Regions from separate parts of the Homo sapiens genome. Here region 2 is linked to region 1. The links are contacts of gene promoters, found by promoter capture Hi-C in human tissues and cell types (Jung and others, 2019). All regions are on one chromosome and are shown on one strand. The core of a region is centred on a gene start or on the middle of the fragment in contact, and the rest is flanking DNA. Distances in the headings are between cores, read along the strand shown. Region 1 holds the start of IL12A (interleukin 12A). Region 2 overlaps IL12A-AS1 (IL12A antisense RNA 1).

Region 1 (3,706 bases), core at 3-2,502:
CACCCATCCATTCATGCTTGGCACCCACCTCCCTCAACCCATTTCCAACACTTTTCCTTCAACACCTGAGAGATGACTCGAGTTATTACAAAGCGCCACTCTATTCTAGGGCTAGAAGCCAGCTCCCTGTGAGGGTCTAGAGATGAGCTTGGACAAGGGTGTTGAACCCAACACTCACCCAGAGAAAGCCTACATGTTTTTGATCAGGGAAACCCAGACCAGGTGGTGAAGTGGCTGAGTCAGACTTGGGACCCAGTGTTTTAAAAACAGTGGAGTGAGAAAGCCTGACTTTTTTTGTTTTTTTAAGACGGAGTCTCACTCTGTGGCCCAGACTGGAGTGCAGTGGCACGATTTTGGCTCACTGCAACCTCCACCTCCGAGTTCAAGCAATTTTCCCTGCCTTAGACTCCCGAGTAGATGGGATTACAGGCACCCACCACCACACTCGGCTAATTTGTGTATTTGTTAGTAGAGACGGGGTTTCACCATGTTGGTCAGGCTGGTCTTGAACTCCTGACCTCAGGAGATCTGTCCGCCTTGGCCTCCCAAAGTGCTGGGATTACAGGCGTGAGCCATTGCACCCGGCCAAGCCTGACTTTAGAACTGGCTAGGATCTGCCTTCTGTTTGTAGCTGAGGGACCCTAGGCAGGAAAGCAGGAAATCTCCCACGCTGGGCCTCAGTTTCTCCTCTACGAAGTGGGCATAATGATAGCTCATCAGGCTGTTTCGAGATGAAAAGAGACATGCCCTATTTAGCACACGGTGAGACCCCTATTCTTATTCCTCTTTGCAGGAGACGGCTGCTGCTGTTCCAGTCTCTCCTTAGGCAGACTTGAGTTTCTACCCACTCTTCCCAAGCAGCCGCCCCTCCGCACCCGAGCGAGCCAAAGACCTGGCGGGCTGAGTACTCACTGCGCGCTGGACACATGCTGAGCCGGCACTGCAGGGACACAGGGCGAGCCGCTGGATGCAGACCTGTGGCCGCGGCAGGTGAGGGCGGTGGCTGGGAGGCTGACCCAGGGGGCCACATTTTTATAATTGTCCCGAGGCGCGGCAGGACTTTCCCGGGACTCTGGTCTCTTGCTTTCTGTCTCCTTCTGTGTCTCTCTCTACATCAGCTTCTCGGTGACACGTGCGGTGCGGCCGGCCCGCGGGGCTTGCGGCGCTTTCGGATTAACTCCCGGGGTGCCCGGCCGCAGCCGTTCCGGGACGGCCCCGCCGCCTCCAGCTCGGCCCAAAATGAAAGCGAAATGTTCGCAGTTACTGCGCGGGGTCCACAGGCGGGCGGGACACCCCGCCCACCACCCTGGGTCCCCGGCCTTAGCCGGACGCCCCGTGTCTAAGCTACCCCGCCCCGCAGCTGTGCAGCGCCCCCTGCCGACGTAGAGAGAGGAGTGCCTCCCACTTTGCATGTCCTGCGTAGGGATGGGCCCTAACCACGACCTCCAGCCTAGTACTGGAAGGGGTAGGCAAATCATTCACTCATCATCGTTCCTTTAGATGGCTCACTAGATGCCAGGCCGACGTTGCACCAGGTGCAGGACACCCAGGGAGAACAGGACCCTTGGGGCATTGCCACACTAAATCAGACTCAAGGCGTTTTGTTCACAGGTCTTTTCTGAAACCTGAAAAGGGATGAGAGCTGGCTGACTCTGCAATTATTACTCTTGTAGAGAATCCAGTTTAACGATAGGATGAATACACAGAGTCCTGGGAGGAAAGACCTAGAGAAAGAGCCCACGCTCAGCCGGAGCAACGGGGTCCAGGAGTCAGCAAAGGCTCCCGGGAGCAGGCAGGGGCCCCAACCTGAGTGTTAAAAACAAGCAGGCATTAGACCGCTTCCAGCGGGAGGGCACGCAGGGTCTAGCCAGGGGAAACAGGGATCAGAAGCGCAGTCATGAAGGGTTGAGGGAGGTGGGGGTCTAGGTGTCCTTGCAGGGTGTGAGGCTGGAGGGCTGGATGGGGCCATGCCATGAGGGCAGGGGATGCCATACTAAGGAGTGTACTTTCTGTGCTGAGAGTAGTGGGGAGTCTTCCTGGGTTTTAGGCGGGAGATGTGGCAGAATTTGCATGATGGGGGGATCCCTTCAGCCACAGCATGAAGGATGGATCCAGGGGTCAGGAGTAGAGCAGAGGGAAGAGTTGACAAGGTGTGGCCAAGTCCTTATTCAGTATGGAGAACACAGGGTGGGCAGGAGGGACTCTCAGAGGGCTTGTGGGCCAAGGCTTGGTAGCTCCTCAGGTGAGCGGGAGAGGAAGGCCCTGAGAATGGGGAATGGAGATTGTTCTAGCTTTACAGGGATTACTGTATAAGAGGACTGAGTTTGGAGGAGATGGTGAGAAGTTCCATTTTGGATGTGCTGGGTTTGAGGTTCCTGTGGGACTTTTTAGTTCAGTTGTTTTTCCCACAGGCATTAGTCACCCTAGGCGTGGGTAGTGGGGAGGATGTGTTTGATCTCTGACTTGGAGCTTCCAAAGGGCCTGACTACACCCAGGCCCTAGGACCTAATAACTGGAGCTGCCTTCTGGGTGGCTCATCTGCTCGAAGCTGATGAAGCACGGCTGTAGGGAGTTTTAGGTGTGTGTAAAATAAGAGAAATGGTTGATCTCTAAGGCCCCTTCTAATGCTGCTGTCTGAGAATTCCCCCACGGGATACAGAGTAATCCATTGTCAGAAACAATTGCGTTTAGCAGTTTGTCTAGAGCAAATGACAGGTGCAGAGCTGTGTTGTGGCCACAAGGGTTTAGTGTGGAGTTAAATGTACTTAAAGTCAGGATGAAGACAAGTGTATCACAACTGAGCTGTTTCTCCCCTGGAAGGGCCATCTCCTATACAAAAGTAATTTCTGTTGCTTAGATGAGCACAGGGCCACTGTTAAAAATGGATTATTGGCTACCAGACACAGTTTCTAATTTACATTTTTGTGAAATAGTTTCCTGAAGTGCTCCATGTCCTCTAGCTAAGATGAAATGAAAACCTTCTTCTAGGAATACATGATTTTTCTATAAGTGACAGTCTTAGCTCACAATCACTACTTCACAGTGTGTAGCATTGTCGTGGAGGTCTCGGCCAATGCTATAAGGAAAGAAAAAGAAATGAGAGCTTTAAACATTGGAAAAGAAAAGGTAAAACTGTCACTTTTTACAGTTGATATACAAAAAGAAAAAAAATTAATAGACTATTAGAACTAAGAAGAGAATTTAACAACATCATGCAATACACATATCAACTTAAAAAAAATCAGCCGATTTTCTTTGTATCTGCAACAATCCATCAGAAAATGTAATAAAAACAAGATGACATGCATAGAAGCAGCCAAACTATAAAGTAACTGACTGTAGATACAGAGGCAGTATAATGGCTAAGAGTATGGACTAAACTATGTTAATCCAGGTTCTGCTACTTACTTGCTGTGTGTTCTTAGGTGAGTTATTTATCTCTCTGGGCTCAGTTTCCTCATCTGTTAAATGATGATAATAAAAGTACCTACAGTATAGAGTTATTATGATTATTACATGAGCTTGGATAACTACAGAATAGTGTTTGGAGAAAAATTTTAAAGTTCAGTCAAGAATATAGTGTGATTTAATTAAATAATTCTATACCCTTGGGTGGAAGGTTTCTCTATATAGAAAGCTTAAGCCTCTTTTCGTTAATTCACATGCTCAATGTAATTCCAATACAAGCTACAAATAAATTTTCTCA
Region 2 (3,706 bases), core at 446-2,945, 34 kb after region 1:
AATGTTATAATTACAGATATATTCACGTATGTACAGAAAAAATTACCTAAGAAAACATATCAAATTTTGACATGAAATTCGTTTTATAAAATTTATCAATAAGTATATATTATTTGAATAATCAAAAATAATAGAGGTTATTTTGGAACAGAAGCAAGGTGCTGTCTACCCCACAGCTGAATCAGGGCAATCCACAAATCTTCTGTAATGTGGAATTAGAATGCAATGACACCATCATTTAGAATTAGAACATACCAAAGAGTAAGTATTAGGAATATGGGGGAATGTATCTTATGTTCTCAGGTTTAGGGAATAAAGTCAAAAGCTTCTTGAGGACAGGCTCCAGGGTTGTCTTGTTATCCCCAGTGCTTAACACTGAGCTGGGCACAGAGTAAGGAAGAATGATAACAAGATTAAGTCACCTTCAGAGGATTAGGGAATGTTTTTAAACATGTGCTGCAGACTCTGAAGGCAGTAAGCAAGTGTTTATTAAATGCATGCTACCGCAGGCACTAGGCTTACTGTGGTGACTCAGAGATGCAGAGGACCTAGTCCTTATACCCGAAGAGGTACAGACTAAAGGAAGAGACAGAGGGGAAGCTGTCAATCAGGTGACAGTAGGACATGTTGTGGAAGAGCTGAGGAGGGAGGAAGCCAGCATGAGGATGGTGCCTTATGAGGTGATTTCATTGATCACTGATTTGGGTGACAAATGCTGGCCCTATTGTTAAAACAGCAGTCTAATGAGATATGGTTTTATTTTTATTTATTTATTTATTTTGAGACAGAGTCTTACTCTGTCACCCAGGCTGGGGTGCAGTGGCGCAATCTTGGCTCACTGCGACCTCCGCCTCCCAGGTTCAAGTGATTCTCCTGCCTTAGCCTCCCGCGTAGCTGGGATTACAGGCGCGCATACCACACCTGGCTAATTTTTTTGTGTGATTTTAGTAGAGACAGGATTTCACCATGTTGGCCAGGCTGGTCTTGAACTCCTGACCTCAGGTGATCCATCCACCTCGTCCTCCCAAAGTGCTGGGATTACAGGCGTGAGCTACCACGCCCAGCTGAGGTAGGGTTTTGAAGGACCCATCTAGGTTTGGCTTGGCCTCAGATGAAGTTCTCTCACTGCCTGTTCTCCATTGCCTGACATTCCCATTACAGCCTACCCCTTTAGAGAATTCTATTATTTGCTCCAGAGTTGTTAAAATATGCATGTGTCTTGTTGAGATGATCTAACAGTACCTCATATCCCCCAGACACCCCAGGATGATGGAGGTCATCCTGACTCCTCCAACTCCCTTGCCTCACACCTCTGGTCACTCTTCATGTCCTGGGGACTCTTCTTCCTCAGTGTCTCTCACATCTAGCACTTCTTCTAACTCTCATGGCCACCATTTTAGTTCAGGTAACGGCCCCTGGAATTATCTTCTTGACTTCAGGCTCTCCTCACTGTGATCCATTCCGTTGCCTGATTGATTAATCTACTGAAAATAGTATTCAAAAATCTTCAGTGGTTTGCCCAAGCTTTTAATTTAGCATTGAGGGCCCTTTGTGAGCTGATTCCAGCTGGCTTTTCTAATTTTGTGTGGCAAATTAGTGGTTTCATTAGGAGATAGATTAGGCAGATGTAAGAAAAAGACTCCAAGTATGTTAGCATAAACATGATAGGTGTTTATGTTTTTCAAAAGCAAAAATCCGTATAGTTGGTCCAGGGCTAATATATGGTTTAATAGTGACAGGGCAGTGGTAACCTGTCTTCAAGATGGCCCCCAATAATTCCTGCCTCCTTCTGTTCATACATTTGTGTAGCCCCTCTCACGATGTATGAAGGTAAATACAGACAAATATTTTTACTTATATTGTGTGATGATTGATTTTATGTGTCAAGCTGGGCTAAGGGATGCCTAGATAGCTGGTGAAACATTATTTCTAGGTGAGTTTGTGAGGCTGTTTCTGGGAAGGATTAGCACTGAATCAGCAGATTGAGTGAGGAAGATTGCCCTCCCCAATGTGGGCAGCCATCATCCAGTCCAGTGAGGGTCCACTGGGATACAGCAAAATGGGGGAGCAAGGGTGGACTCCCTCTCACTTTTGAGCTGATATATTCATCTTTTTCTCCCCTCAGACATTGGAGCAGCTCCTGGTTCTTAAGCTTTTAGACTCAGGGACTTAAACTAGCACCCCCTGCCCTCCGACACCTACTCCCCCACTCCAGTTCAAAGGCCTTTGGACTCAAACTGAATTACACCCCAGCTTGCCTGCTTCTCCAGGTTACAGATGGCATATTGTGGGGCTTCTTGTGAAATGAATGAAATCAAACATTTTCCATCTACTCAAATGGTTATGCACAGGGTTAAGCAGTGCCTTCACAACCAGAGGTAATACACAGTCACATTTATCCTTCAAAATTATTTTCAGTTAAATACATTAATAAATGATGAGTAACATCAAGAGGGGTGTGAACCCCCCATTTCCTCCTTCATCTTTTTAATTAATCAACCCATCCCCTTTTCTGTTGGCTCAGAGATAGAAAGATTTGCATAATATCCTGGTGCCATGGCTGATAATGTCCTCTTTGTTAGTTAACTCTTAAAGGAAGAGTCATGTAAAAGCCTGTAAATGACCATATGAATTATGCATAAAGAACTTAACTCAAGCCATGCATATAAAATGGGCATTCAGAACACAACCTTGACTCTCTTATTCTTTTATAAATAGACTCCCACAGGGCTTGCTAGCCTAGTGTGTACACCTCTCCTAAGCACAAAATGGAGTTTGCTTTGTTGGTTTGAAACTAATTTACAAAATTGAGATGACTAAGAAAATAAAATTTTATAAATGCAGTTGGCATCTGGTTAATAATAATAATGTCTTTAAAATTTTTTATGTATCGGGTTGGTGCAAATAAAAAACCACAATTAAGTTTGCACCAACCTAATGTCTTGCACAACATTATATAACATTCCACACACAGAGTGACTGATGAAAGCTAACTTCTTCTTTTCTCGTGGAGACAAGAAGATCCAGTTTTAGACTGGTGAGTGACTTGCTGAAGAGCCCAGAGGGAACCAGAGGAGATCCATATTTGTATTAATCAGGGGATGTCAAAGAAATGGAACCAATAGGAGATGGGTGGGGAGCCTATGGTGGAAGTCCTGGCCCAAGAACCAGGAGTCCCAATGTCTGAGGGCAGGAGAAGATGATGTCCCAGCTCAAACAGAAGAAAATTCACCCTTCCTCTGCCTTTTGTTCTATTCAGGCCCGCAATGGATTGGATAATGCCAACCCACATTGATGAGAGTGGATCTTATTTATTCAGTTTACAGATTCAAATACTAATCTCTTCCAGACACACCCTCAGAGACACCCCAGAAATAATGTTTTACTAATGATTTGGGCATTCCTTAGCTAGTCAAGTTGTTGCATAACATTAACTATTGCAATGCTTAAATTCTGTCTCCTGTTCTCCAACCATACTTCCTATGACCCCTTTAAGATCAAAACTGCATCTCCAAGGCCCGTGACATGGCCTTGCCTAGCTTATCTAACTAATTTTGTGCCACCCTCTCCCTTGTCCATCACTTTCCACCCTTTAGCTTCTTTCTACTTCTTGAGCACATTAAGCTTATATCTACCTTAGTCCCTTTGCATTTGTTCCTTTTGCCTGGAATGATCCCACCATCCCATCTTGACCTTTCTAACTCCT

Evidence for each region. Contacts are between HindIII fragments. The study calls those that stand out against the background at their distance.
Region 2: a contact is called between a fragment that was not itself captured here and the fragment with the promoter of IL12A in region 1, in 2 of the 25 tissues and cell types used here (mesenchymal stem cells and psoas muscle).

What each region holds. Positions count from the first base shown.
Region 1 is chr3:159,986,381-159,990,086 of GRCh38, reverse strand. It overlaps IL12A (interleukin 12A), which reads right to left and starts at 1,252. Exons shown (of 7, transcript NM_001397992.1): 1 at 913-1,252. The coding sequence starts at 928. IL12A-AS1 (IL12A antisense RNA 1) reads left to right here. Exons shown (of 10, transcript NR_108088.1): 9 at 794-990. RefSeq lists enhancers at 992-1,041, 541-1,041, 1,042-1,542, 2,394-3,593 and silencers at 1,162-1,211, 1,282-1,481. The HindIII fragment of the contact is 7,471 bases long and covers 1-3,706 here.
Region 2 is chr3:159,952,811-159,956,516 of GRCh38, reverse strand. The region is part of intron 9 of IL12A-AS1 (IL12A antisense RNA 1); the gene reads left to right. Among named protein-coding and RNA genes, the nearest start is that of IL12A, 34 kb to the left of the region's middle. The HindIII fragment of the contact is 4,370 bases long and covers 1-3,706 here.